2 separate regions of the Homo sapiens genome follow, and region 1 is linked to region 2. The links are contacts of gene promoters, found by promoter capture Hi-C in human tissues and cell types (Jung and others, 2019). All regions are on one chromosome and are shown on one strand. Each heading gives the region's core, a stretch centred on a gene start or on the middle of the fragment in contact. The rest is flanking DNA. Distances are from core to core; before and after follow the strand shown.

Region 1 (7,745 bases), core at 318-2,817, 160 kb after region 2:
TGCACTATAATAAGTTCTCTTTCTTTCTTTCTTTCTTTCTTTCTTTCTTTCTTTCTTTCTTTCTTCTTTTCTTTCTATCTGTCTCTCTGTTATTCCCATCTCTGTGTGCCATCCTCACACCCCTTCACCATACTATTACATAGTATGCTAAAATGAAACAATTCAGACAGTATTGTTCCAATCATACATGCATTTATTAGAAAGAAGGCACAGAAAATATAAAAATTCAAAGGAGTTTTAGTAGTTGTTTCTGGGATGTAATATTAATTAGGACATGACATACACTAGATAACTGCTGGTAGAGAATCCATTAAAAAAACACACACCCACAAAGACATACACACTAACTTACTCACAATGTCTATAAATATATATTTGTATATATGTATATATAAACATGTATTTTAAAGTAAATACAGAAATATAACTAAGATATATCATATTATGTCAATAATAATCAAAATACAGTAGAACAATCTGAAAATCTCCAAATTAACTTCACATAGCTAATTATTTCAAGATGCTAAATATTTTTGTTCATTAAAATAAAGATAAATTTGTGATTTTTCTCCATATCTGATCTTGCAAAAATTCAAAAACTATTCATAAGCATTTTAATTTAATATCAATATAATTATTTTCACAAGTTCAGTTAGAATTGTTTCTCTGTATATGGAAGTAATGGAAATGTTAATTCAGTTGCCAAGGTTTGACAAAAGATACCATTTTTGACAAAATGGATGAACCTAGAAGATATTATGCTAAGTAAATTAAGCAAGTTCAAGAAGGACAAATATTTTATGATTCCACTTATATTAGGTAAGTAAAATAGGCAAACTAATTGAAGCAGACAATAAAATAGTGTTTTCCAGGGGTTTGGGAGAGAGAGAAATTGGGAGTTGTTGCTCAGCGGGTATAAAGTTTCACTTATGCTTATGAATAAGCATAGTGATTTCCTCTGCAATATAATGCCTATGGTTAACAACGTGGTATTGTGCACTTAATAATGTGCTAAGAGGGTAAATCGCAAGCATTATTACCATCAAAATCAAAGACTGACAAAGAGAGCTTTTGTAGGTAATGGATATGTTTATTACCTTCACTGTTATAATGACAGCATCATGGGTGCACGTATATGTCCAAACTCAACAATTCATAAATATATATATTACATACATATATTACATATATATAATATATATATAAATATATATATTATATATATTATATATAATATATATAATATATATGTATGTATAAAATACTTGGTTTTTTATTCAATTGTACTTCAATAAAGCCATTAAAATTATATACATCTATTTTTGAAATTTATATGATGCATTTCTTAAATTGATGTACAAATTATTTCTCTACAAGAAATCAAATAATTCATTGAGGTGTCGGGGAAAATGGTATTGTGGTTTTTATTTGAATTGATGATCAAACATTTCACAGACAAAAACACAAATATAGCGAAATAATATTTCCTAGATCAGACAGAAATTTATTTAAATTTTAAACTTTATATCTGATTCTTAAAATTACTTCCCACAAAAAGAGATAAAATTTCAAAATCCAGGTTGCCTTTAACACTGCAAATTTTGACTTGCACTGTTTTCAGAAAGTTATATCAATATAAATAACAGAGGACATTTTGATCTTATGGACCGAAACCCAGCTTCTGTCTATAACATAAAAAAAACCAAGTGAATGCCTTACTTTATCCATCACCCAAGCTCTATAATAATGGATTTTCTTAAATAAAGTGGGAAGCCTGTGCGCAGCACTAGAGGAAATCATGTTATCATTTCAATAATCTATTAATGAGTTTAACATTTTGGTAAAAGATTGAGTTGACAAGGTCTGACTTCCATTATGTAATGATAGCTAGATATGTAATGATAACTCCTATCGCTGTTACTAGTCCTTCTTTTCCAAGCTAAGTACAGTTTAAAATTTGGAAACAAGCATATTTCTTTAGAGAGAGATGGCACGGATCAAAATGAATCCACTGACATTTTGACTGTAGAAGAAAGGAAAGACCAAAAGTCAATTCCCACAATTGGAACAAAAGTCAGTCCCAAAAAGTTGGGACATAAGTCTCAGAACTTAATGTCTCCTGGCTTGTACATGGAGAACAGGGCATAATTAAGCTACTTTTGAATAACCCTATAAAAACTTTAACATTCTGAGGTGAAGAAGAAGTAGCCAGATTTAATCTTGAATAAAACTGACTAGATTCAGTTTTAACCTATAAAAAAAGAAAGTCTTTTTTCTATAAAGTCTTATAGTTGCTTTTTTAAAAGTAACATATGAGATCATCCTGTGCTTTTTTAAAAAATCAGGTTTGAATGTTAACAGTCTTTTGTGTTTTCACATAAATTTTAAGATTTTTTTTCAATTCTGTAAGAAATACCATAGGAATTTAATAGAGTTTGCAATAAATCCATTAATCACTGTCAGAAGTACAGCCATTTTAATAATATGAATGTTCATCTCTGGTCTAGCAAAGATACTCCATCTGACACATGGGATGCCAGTGGAGCAAATACTTGGTGGAAATTGCAGGAGTCCACTACCAGACTCTAGGATCTATTGGATTTTGCAATGGTCAGACTTTTAATCAAAGATGTAATGGAGCCCATCATCCTGCATCCTTTATACTTTTAAGGTCTTTTATTTTCACAATCCCCAGGCATGTAACGCAATATTATTTTCCATTTTCTGGGTCACCTGACATCTGTGGTAATGGAGGAATGAAGAAGCTTCATGTATCTAGTGAATTGAAGAGTTGTCTTCCCCATAAATGTGTCCAGTGAGTAACCTCCAGAATCTATTAAAGTGACTTTATTGGAGAGAAGATCTTTGCAGATGTATGTAAAAAAAGAAAATCAAGACAAATTTATTCTGGATTTATGATGTGCTCTAAATCCAATGACAGATATCTTTATAAGGAGAAAGGTAGGAGGATCCCTTGAGGCCAGGAATCCAAGACCAGCCAAGTCAACATAGCAAGACATCGCTTCTACAAAAAATTAAAAACAAACAAATTTTTTTGAAAAGAATAAAGGCAGGAGAAAATTGGGAAGAAAGAAAAGAAAAGATGATGCTGAGGAAAGAGAAGTTGGTGAGAAGCCATAAGCCATGGGACTCCAAGAATTGTCAGCAACCAGTAAAGGCCAAGAGACAGGCATTGAACTGTTTTTCTCTTAGAGCCTCCAGAACAAATGAACCCTGAGAACACAGATTTTGACTTTCTGGCTTAGATAGCTATCAGAGAATAATTTCTATTTTAAGCAGCCCAAGAAACTAATGCAAAGATAATCCACTTGGCCTTTCCCACTAAAATGACTTGTATCCAGGCACCAATGATATAATTCACGGTTTTTCTAAAGAGAAAGTGTATCTACACAATTATGCATTTTGGAAATTGAGGAAATCACCAGTTATCCTAGGGATGTCACTGTCCCTTTCAGGAAAAAAAAAAAATATGGAATCAGTATCATGGGAGTTTATTTGGCTTTACAGAATTTTTTTCCCTGAAGGGCCTGGTGTCTTTGTCCGTAAATAAATTTCAGGTCTGAAAGCAAACTTAGATCCAGACCCTTGACAGTTTACTGTGATTTCTAGTGAGGACAGCTGCCCTCAACTTTTTAGTATCCATTCTTGAACTCTTCTGGTATTATAGATTGAGAAATTCCCTTGGTCACCTATCTGTTTTGTCCCTAGTGCTATCTTCTCTATTACTATGTACACAGCTTTCTAAATTAGGTCTTTCTGGATAACACCCCAGTCTTAGTACTCATGTGTATTATGACTATCTCCCTTCTGAAGGTCTCTATTATTTCAATATCTGATCATAAATCGTATCAGTGAGATTGGTTTGGTGAGTCAAAAAAGACCTATCAAAGGATAGACATGTTGAACATTCATTACAACTAGCAAATATTTGATAGATTTCCAGCACTGTATAAGATGTCTATGTCCAACAACGATAGACTGGATTAAGAAAATGTAGCACATATACACCATGGAATACTATGCAGCCACAAAAAATGATGAGTTCATGTCCTTTGTGGGGACATGGATGAAATTGGAAACTGTCATTCTCAGCAAACTATCGCAAGGAATGTAAACCAAACACCACATGTTCTCACTCATAGGTGGGAATTGAACAATGAAAACACATGGACACAGGAAGGGGAACATCACACTCTGGGGACTGTTGTGGGGTGGGGGAGGGGGGAGAGATAACATTAGGAGATATACCTAATGCTAAATGACGAGTTAATAGGTGCAGCACACCAACATGGCACATGTATACATATGTAACAAATCTGCACTTTGTGCACATGTACCCTAAAACTTAAAGTATAATAATAATAAAATTTAAAAAAAAAAGATGTCTATGTTAATATATCCACTATCATAAGCCTTCTGATTCCCTCTTTCATTCACTGGCAAGGCCATTCCAGCACACAAGTTTCATTTTGTAGTAGCCACAGTTTTTCCCAAGATTATGAAGGTATCTTAGTAGTAGTCTGTTACCACTACCTTCTGAAGTTTGAGCACAACTATTAAATTCTATTTCCTTTGAGAGTGCCTCAAAACAAAAAAGGAAAGTGTTGTTGAACTTTTTGAAAGTGTTTGCTGCATCTATTGAAATGATCATGATGTATTTCTTTTTAGTCCTAGGTATGTGATGAATCACATTTATTTATTTGCATATGTTTAACGAATCTTGCATCCTAAGATTAATGCCTACTTGATTGTGCTGGTTAGATTTTGATGTGCTGCTGAATTCAATTAATTAGTACTTTGTTGACGATTTTTGTGTCTATATTCATGATAGATATTGGCCTGATGTTTTCTTTTCTTCCTGTGTCTCTGCAAGGTTTTGGTATCAGAGCAATCTTGGCCTCATAGAATGAGTTAAGGAGGAGTCCCTCCTCCTCAATTTGTTGAAATAATTCAGCAGGATGGCTAGAATTTCTTTTTATATGTATAAAAGAATTTGGCTGTGAATCTATCTGAATCAGGTCTTTTTTGTTTGCTGGACTTTATATTACTGATTCAGTTTTGGAACTCATTTTGGGTCAGTTCAGGGTTTCTATTTCTACCCGGTTCAACTTTGGGAGGATGTAGGTGTCCAGAAATTTATCTGCTTCTTCTAGGTTTTTAAATTTGTGTGCCTAGAGATGGTCATAATGGCCTTTGCAGGTAGTTTGTTTTTCCTGAGGTTGATGATGATCCCCTCTTTGTCATTTCTGAGTGTGTTTATTTGGATCATCTCTCTTTCATTCTTTTGTAGTCTATCTAGTAATTAATCAATCTTATTTATTCTTTCAAATAACAAACTTTCAGTATTGTTGATGTTTTCTATGATTGTTTGTTCTCAATTTTACTCTAAAAAACCCTGAGCAAATTATGTGTTAAGGGAAAATACTCCAAAATAGTAAGAGCCATCTGTGAAAACTCACAGTCAACATCATACTGAATGCGCAAAAGCTCAAAGGATTCCTCTTGAGAACTGGAACAAGGCAATGATGTCCATTCTAACCATTGCTATTCAGTACAGTATTGGAAGTCCTAGCCAGAGTAAGAGAGAAAAACAAAAGTCATCCAAATAGAAAGAGGGAAAGACAAACTATCTCTCTTCTCAGATGGTATTATTTTATACACAGAAAACCCCAAAGCCTCTGTCCAAAAGCTCCTACTTCTGAAAAACTTCAGCAAAGTTTCAGAAGAAAAAATGTATGTACAAATGAGAGGAGGTTCCAGCTGTGTTTCCTTGGTCGAGTAGGGGCTCCGAAAACTGTGAAACTCACTCATTTCCTGCATCAGAACTTACTTTGGTCCTGGATGAATCATACTGAAGATATATGCTTAAAATATTCCTAACATCAGAATTTGTGCATGTGTTTTCTTCCCCAAGAAAGCTATAAACAGAGAAACTTTAGTTGTAACCTTCCCTGTGTCTTTGCTCCCTCTCTCCCTTCCCCCTCCCCTGAAACTAAAAGGAATGTTAAAGGCCAGTTTTTCCATGACCAGCAGCCCTTGTCTATGCTCCCAATTCCAATTCCTTGTAAACACAATTTGTAAAATCCTGTGAGATTCTGTCTCCTTTGCCATGCCGCTGCAAGGTTATAAAGTAGATAAAACTTCAGTTACAATTCAGGTTTTCCTCAAGATCTAAGACATGTTAATTGTCTTTTTTTCTCGCTCTGGTAACATCTTCCCACCACATTTATTTCCCGTCTTAAAGAGTTTAAAAGGTGATCGAAAAATCCAACACTAGCTACCCGCTTGGGACCCCTTCCACCCTGTGGAAGCTTTGTACCATCACTCTGCTCGATAAAGCCTACAGCTTTTTTTTCTCTCGGTTGACCCGTGTCTCTCTCTCACCCTCACTGAGGGCTGCCGCCACACCAAATCTTTGGCAAGGCTTAGGCAAGAACCTTTGGCATTACATTTTTGGCGGGCCAGCCAGGAGGATCTCCAGGAAAGGCATCTAGATCGTCACGTGGCGAGTACGATGGGACCTCTTTGGCTTGCTATTCTATCCTGTCCTTCCTTAGAATTCAGAGGCTAAACCGGGCACCTGTCAGCCACTTAAAGGTGATTATCGCGGCCATGGGACTAAAGACAGGGTGTCAGCCTCTCTGGAAAAGGGCTAACAACCCCTACCCTTTGGGACTGGGAATGTTGGTAAGTCTGGATGCAGTTCATACTCTTTCACTTTCCGTGGTGGTCCACAAGTACACCGGGAGTTATCAGCGGACTTTCTAGTCCAGATTTCCTGGTTGAGATCATGGAGCCGCCAAAGGCCTCCCCTGCAAGGGTTACTGAGTGTGAGACCGCCATATCTTCTGACCCCTTCCTCCTGGGTCCTAATGTCCGCCAGCTAGACTTCTTTCCTCACCTCACAAGCAAGGTTATTCCCACTAGGCAGGATGAAGATTTTCTATTTAAAAGTCTTAAATTCTTGGGATGGTGCCCAGAAGAGCCCTGTTCATGGTTGCTTCCAGGGATTAGGCAGGTTTTTCCGTTCCATGGCTATTTTGAAGGGCCAGTTCCCCACCATAGTGTATGGTCCCCCACATCAAGACAATTTAAATGTAGGTCTGTAATTTTCATGTGGATAGTAGATGCCTTAGGGTATTTCCTCCATTGCTCCCCAGACAGACTTTCCCCCTTCTTGGGGCCTCTCAAGTACAATCTGTGGTGCATGGGTACAGCTCTTAGAGCCATTGAAAAGCTATTTGAACCATTCAATAGTTGGTACTGGAAGGAAGAAATGTAGTCAGTTGGGACACAGGATACTGGTACCGCCGTAAGAGAGGGGCTTGCTCCTTAGATGGCAAGTGGGGACAGAAGGTTAGAGTACAGCAGCTGTTCTCTCAGCCCTGGCCTAGAGAACATCGACCACCCCCTTCAAGCTTACTAAGCCTCCTGTCACTAATTTAGAGATTTCTCCTTGAAGGACAGTTTTGTGGCCAGGCCCATGTAAATTGGGCCTTAGCATGCAGGCATCAGTGGTGCCTCAGGCCCAGGCCTTGCCGCCATGGAACAGGTAGGACGCATTGGCAGAAGGACCACAATAAATCCAACAGTCCTTGTGCTCCATTTAGTGGTCAATGGGTGCACAGCAGGGACAAGGGAAGTTTCCATACCGCCGGTAAGCATGGTTAAATCCAGTAGATGGAGGGCTCAGGTAAAGAGGCCATGAGCTTTGAGCACAATTG
Region 2 (7,101 bases), core at 880-3,379:
TCAACGTTTGGTAAGAATGGATGAGGAAATTGAAAACTCCAGGAGTTTCGCATAAGCCATATGTCAGCTTTTCCCATTGTCTCAAATAAGGTAGTGGGTCTTCCTGACAGGAATAAAGAAAAGAAAAAGTGGATGATGTAAGATAATTACTTTACATACCTTTCTGAAAAAGGTTAGAACAATGTAAGCAAAGATGTAGGTAAAGTTTATGTGCTTTGAAAAATATATAAATATATATGAATAATATATTATTATGTATTATATATTTTGTCCATGTTTATTTATAAGAAAGGCAAAGTGGTGGGAGAATTATGAGGTTAAGCGACATCTCTAATGTCAAGTCAGTATACTCACAATTATTAAAATAAGTCATAGATAATTAAACATCAATTTATTTTCTCTTTAAAGCTTCAATAGTTGCATATAGATATTTAAACAACTCTTTGAGCTCCATAATCAATTAATTCTACTGTACCCATAAAACCAATTTTCTAACAGTCCAGTTTACACAACTCATTAAGCTAATCCTTTTATCTTTGGTTCAAGTGAACTCTGTACTATTTTGAGTGTATGGCAGAAATCCTGGTACCAACTATTCATTTGGATTTGAGCTAAGATCTTAATAATATTATCATTTAAGTAAATATATTTGTAAATTATAGCTAGAAATTTTGAGAAATTATTGAAATAGAGAACTGTACTCAACCTTAATCTGTCTCATATTTTTAAATAAAGAGACATGGTTTCAATAAACTATATAGATATAACAACCTTCACACTTCAACAAGATAATTGGACTTCAAATGCATGATTTCCAATTCTTTAGTTAGGGAGTATAGAAATATTAGAAACTTCAAATCACCCTTATTGACTTTTGCATCTGAGATGTAGACATTATCTCTCTCTACTGTGAAGGAAACCTTCTGGAAACATGGGAATATCTTTCAATATCTAAATAAGAAAACTGAGATTTACAAGGAAAACTTTCTGCAGTTACATAGATAGTTGTAGAAAAATGTGTAATTACTCATTCTATATCTATGCATTCAGTAAGATGTTACTTGATGGATTTTACTGTTTTTAAGATCTAAAACATTATATAGTAAAACAGATGTGTAATTGCTTAAATTCTTAGGTGTACTAATATATAGGTTTATGATTTCCTGGGGTGTTCTGTTTGAGTGATGGCCACAGGGTTTTAACAGACCTTATAATTTAAGCTTTTCTATAATGTTTGTGAGATTGATAGATCATCTTGTATTTTCATTTCATAAATTCACTTACCAAAAACTCCACTTCCCTGACTTTATGGCTTTATAAAAGCTCTGCTTCAAAGACACAAATAAGTTAGATCTTCACGTTACCGATTAAACAAATTCTTACCTAAAACTTCACTGTAAAACTGATCCCACTTCTTCATATCAGACATTTGGAACCAAAAGTCAAAATAAAGCACATAGATCATATTTTTTACCCTCTCCATGAAAGTCATTTGATCACTTAATTTTGACATAACAATAGGTATGTAGGAAGGAGGGAAAATCAGTCCTCCACTGTGCCTTTCAATTGTGTAGCCAGGAGTAAAGCGGAGACTGTACACAAACCGTATGTTAAGTAGCGCAGCCAGCAGCTCACCACAGGGAAAAACAGCATCTGCAAAAACGATGTCAAATCTTGACTCTTGTAGTTTTTTCATAACTTTCTTATTTGAAACTACATCTTTACAGAAGTTTCTAAATATGTCATATAATTCCCACAGGATTTCTTGTTCTTGTGAAAAATATAACCAAAAGCTATCTTTTCGAATGTCTGACCATCTCTTAACCTGTTGCATGATGATATTCTCAAATTCAGTTTTAGTTAAAGATGTAGGATAAACTTCAAATTTAAGAGTGGATGCATCATTGGGATCAAAAAGAATGGAAGCTGAAGATGCCAGTACAGTCACCTCATGACCTCTCTGAACAAGCTCTTTCAGGATTGTCTTCATATTCATCCAATGGCTGTATTCTGCGGCCCACACCAGCACTTTTCCACAACTCCCAGAGCTAAAGTAACAACTGAGATGTATCAGCAGAAGAACTGAAGTCCATTTCAGAGTCATCCTGGTGCAATGCGATCATTCTTTTCCAGTCACTGTTTCTTTCTCATACTTATATACAGAGATAAATCAATCAAGTTAAAATATAACTCCTCCAATCCAAAGTAAATATATTATAGGAGCATCCTGAGTACATGGATGGCAAGGAGACAAACAAAGTTCGATTACTTCATATTTACTCAAGGATGTTTTATGTTTCTTTTATGTTTATATTCACTGTCATCCACCTAAGATTAATGACCTTGCAAGTACCCTGTTTTATGTAACCTACTTTATAATAGTGTCAAGAACAGTGGCAAGTGAGAGAGTCCTGCAGAGCCCTTGACACAGAATAAGAGATGAAATGATTGTACAATGCAAACAGCATTTTTGAATATCGTGGTTCAATGAATATCTTGTAAATCTTTGTTGGAGTATAATTCAAATACCATATGATTCATCAATTAGTATTTAAAATTAAGTATTTCCTAGTAAATTCACAGACTTGTGCATCCAACGTAACAATCAGTTTTATCTAAAAAAACAAAAAACTCCTGTGTATTAGTTCTCATCTCCCCACCAAATTTCTGCATCCACCCTGCACTAGGCAACCAGTAATCTAATTTCTGCCTCTAGAAACACACCTATTCAGGATCTTTTTAAAAGTAAACGGAACAATATAGTATGTGGTCTTTTGTGGCTGGCTTCTTTTATTTAGTTTAATGTTTTTAAAGGACCATCCGTAGAATAGTGTAAATAAGGACTTCATTTTTATTGCCAAATTGTATCAGATGCTATTTATAAACACAATTTATTTATTCATTTATAAGTTGATAGATATTGATTTTCTTCCACTTTTGGCCATTATGAATAGCATTGATTAACATTGATGTGCATGAATTCTGTGGACATGTTTTTATTTTTCTTGGGGATATGCCTAGAAAGGCAATTACTGAATTATGTGGTAAATGTAAATATAACCTTTTGAGGAATTGCTAGACTTTTTCAGAGTGAGTGAATAATTTTCTATTCTCACCAACAATGTATGAGGGTTTCAATGTCTCCACAACCTTGCCCACCCTTGTCTTTCACATAACCAAAAAAGTTATTTTTTATTTTAATTTATAAACACACTCCAACAGACCCAAAAAAGGAAGGTTTCCTTCCACATATTGGAGGGAAAAGTGAATAAATTAAATAATAACTTACCTAATACTTCACTGTAAAACTAATCTCACTTCTTTTTGTTAAAAATCTCAAATGCAAAGTCAAAATGAAGAAAATGCAACAGATTTTTCACCTTTCTACAAATGTGTTTTGGTACTAAGTTCTGATATGACAACAGTTACATCAGAAGGAGGTAATGTAAGTCCTCCACAGAGTTCTTGGTACATACTGCCAGTTGTAAATGGATGATAGTAGACCAAATGTATAACAAATGTTTAACAGACTAAGCTGTTCAGATAACAGCTCACTACTGAGAACTGACATCTGCAAGAATGACATAAATTCTGGAATCTTGTTGTTCCTCATAATTTTCTTGTTCAAAACAGCATACTCAATGAGCTTTTGAACAGTATCAGAACATTCATGATATGTAGTTTTTGCATCTTTGAATCATATGCCAACAATGTACTCTTTGGAAACTTATATGTCCACATCTTGATCAATTTCATAAATATGAAATCAAGTTCCTTCTGAGTAAAAGATGTGGGATAAACCTCAAATTTAACAGCAGATTGTTGGAATCAATGAGGATGGAAGCTGAAGGTGACAAGCACAGTTACCTCATGGTGTTCTGAGCAAGTTCATCAAGTATCAACATTAAATTGATACAAAGACTGTATTTCATCGGCCACACCAGCACATTCTCGCAGGATTCAGGGCTAAAATACAACTGTCAGCATAAGAAACAAAAAAGCCCATTTCTTAGACAACTTGTTAAAATGCTATCTTTCTTTATAACTTTCTCTAACTTGGTACATATCAATATCAATCAATGTCACAATGATTTAAGTATTGACAATAGAGGTTTTGGAAAGCAAGTGAATAAAGAAAAGGATGAATGATTTTGTGTTTGCATGTGTGAATAATAAATTTCATTCTTATTGTAAATATGGCTGTCTCCAGAACAAGAGATAATTTAATTGTATATGAAGAGTTTCTAGTATAAGAAAGCAGCATTGTGTCAACAATGAGGCAGGGGTGTGATCTATTCTTATTTATCTTAACATTCTCAAATAGACCGTCTTCATTTTCTCTATGTATTTTCACAATTATGATATTAGCATCATTTCATGTTTCCTGACATTATTTTTCTGACCATAGAAATTCATTTTCTTTTTATCCAAACAGATATGTTTTAAGTACAATTACAGTTACTTTGCTTCATTTGCAAATATTTTGTCTAAATTACAATATTTTATTTTTCTGAATATTTGCAGCATTCCTTATGTTTCTCACTCTTAGAAAGTATTTATCTTCTAAATGCCTACTCCTGAACTTGTTTCACAGATTGTCTTGTAATTCAGGTAATTTGTACTTTTAAAAAGTCTCACCAGAAATTTACATCAAAGTAGAATTAGGAAGGAAAAGATGCATGTCACAAAACAGACAAATTTGTTTTTATTCTATTAATAATCTGTTAACCTGAAATGAGATAAGTCTTTCTCAAAAGGATGTTGGAACACAGTTTCTGAGCAAATATTGCCTGCAGAGTGGCAATATTGTTCAATATTTTTAATGTCCTTGAGTGCATGCATTATGTGTCACCCAGATTTTCCCTTTGGGAATATACAAATTACTTTCCAGCTGATGAAGTGATTAACAACTGACATACCTCACCTATAAGCTCTCTGTCTCAGAACAGCACTGCTGAAAGCTATCTAGTATAAAGTGACCTTTCCAAGACAGCCCATATCCAATGCCTGGTCATATGTAAGATTTTGAAGGCCAATTCTCCTCATTTCAATGTGGACCAACTCTGAAGGGCTAACTTAGCTTCAAACTCCCAGTGGGTGAGATGAAACCTATGCTGAGACTGCATGTCTCAGCATGCTCAGGGTGCTATATAGAAAAATACCATACATTGCCTAGCATATAGACAAAAAAAATTTATTTGCCACAGTTCTTGAGGCTGAAATTTTCACAATCAAGATGCTGGTATTGGGCATTCCTCCAAGATGGCAGCCCGTCACCATGTCTTAATGGGGAAAAGAGATGAATGAGTTCTTGTGAGCAAATTTTGGAATGGAATTAATTCCACTAATGAGGACTCTGCCTTCGTGACCTAAACACCTCCTAAAAGGTTCTGTCTGCTAATACAGTCATTTTGGTTATAAGAATTTTAACATATTAATCTTTGGAGCACTCAAACATTCAAACCATTGAATTGAATTATATCCTAATTTGTTCCATAGTCCAATCTTGCTTCCTACTTTTTCACAGGTGTTATTTTCAATAAAACTCCCAAATTATCTTCCTCAAAAGCATATTCAGCTTAGAGTCTACTTCTTGGAGCCACCCAGCATTTGATAATATGTACCAAGAGAGGTCAGAAAAAAAGAACAGACAACAAAATGAGATTTTAGAGTTGGATCATTCACTACCAGTTGTAAGGAGAATCCTATCACTATTGGTAGGGAGAACACAAATAGACCCTGGAATGTGATAATTTAAATTTTTCATACTTTCAGTAATGGCAAATTATGATGGTAATCTTTTGAAAGGGAAAGTGTTACTTATTAGGATATATCACAAATGTATCAATATGGGAAAAGTAGAAATTATGACCACAATAGAGGCAAATGTTTTTTTCTTCAGAGTTAATGCTTGGGATAAAATAATAGAAGAGTGAGGACTAATAACCATCAAATTAAGGCAAACTATGAAAGCCAGAAAAGTCTCCTTGGAAGTGTTCCCAGATAAAGGGGCCTTGATTCAGACACCGAGAGAAGGTTCTCGGATTCCACACAGGAAGGAATTCAAGGTGAGTCACAGAGTGCAGTGAGAAAAGATAGTTCATTGAAAGCTATGACATTACAGAGTAGGGCATCCTCTGAAGGGAAAGAGTTGAATGCAACACCTTTGTTTCAAGTTTTTCTTATATAGGAGTTGTCTCTGTAAAGGACCTATTCACAAAAGTCCCTGGATTTTGTCTGCAGCTCCATCTCTGTGCAATTTCTGGGAGACCCCTCTGCCAGTCCACATGTCCTTGAAGGTATGGAGCCCCATCTAGCCAGAATTCCAGATGTCTATAGTGAGAGGGAGCTGTCTACTATTCCTTTGACTCACCTTTCCCTAGAAACCGCTCAGGGTAGAGAACCAGCTGTAGTATTCAGGCACCCCATTCAGCGTCCTCAGCCTTCTTTCTCTTCAGCCTCAGTGACTACTTCTTTCCTCCATCCACACTCAGTATTTTCTCTCCAAAGATCTGTTCAAATTATGTTGGTATGAAAAAAAAAACCTGGTGTTCCCCTGGTGGCAGTGGCACTTCCTGACTGCATCTAGTTGATCATCTTGAGCACATTCCTGTGTATATATTCTTTTGAGAATTCTTTCTTGATGTCCCTGCCCCATTTTTTAATGGAGTTGTTTGTGTATGTTTTATTAATTTGTTTAAGTTCCTTATAGATTTTTGATATTAGGCCTTTATCAGATGCATAGTTTACAATTATATTCGCCCGTTCTGTAAGTCATCTGTTTATTCTGTTGATAGTTACTTTTGTTGCACAGGGGCTTTTTAGTTCAGTTATGTTCTCTTCTATTGATTTTGTTCTAGGGTTTTATAGTTTATGATACTGTACTAGCGTTTTCTCATGCTGTTACTAAAGACATACCCGAGACTGGGTAATTTAAAAGGAAAGAGGTTTAGTAGATTCACAGTTACACATGGCTTGGGAGGCCTCGCAATGATGAGAAAAGGCAAATGAGAAGCAATGTTATGTAATACATGGAGGCAGGCAAGAAGACTTGTGTAGGGAAACTCTCCTTTATAAAACTATAAGATCTCAAGACACTTA

What was found. The method cuts DNA at HindIII sites, captures the fragments that hold promoters and counts their contacts. A contact is called where the count stands out against the background at its distance.
Region 1: a fragment that was not itself captured here is called in contact with the fragment with the promoter of UGT2B11 in region 2 in 1 of the 25 tissues and cell types used here (hippocampus).

What each region holds. Positions count from the first base shown.
Region 1 is chr4:69,370,137-69,377,881 of GRCh38, forward strand. No RefSeq gene overlaps it. Among named protein-coding and RNA genes, the nearest start is that of UGT2B28, 94 kb to the left of the region's middle. The HindIII fragment of the contact is 5,961 bases long and covers 1-4,548 here.
Region 2 is chr4:69,212,619-69,219,719 of GRCh38, forward strand. It overlaps UGT2B11 (UDP glucuronosyltransferase family 2 member B11), which reads right to left and starts at 2,130. Exons shown (of 6, transcript NM_001073.3): 1 at 1,384-2,130; 2 at 1-103. The coding sequence starts at 2,104. It overlaps LOC105377267 (a long non-coding RNA gene), which reads left to right. Exons shown (of 6, transcript NR_136191.1): 6 at 1,855-4,149. It also overlaps the pseudogene LOC100422021. The HindIII fragment of the contact is 9,933 bases long and covers 815-7,101 here.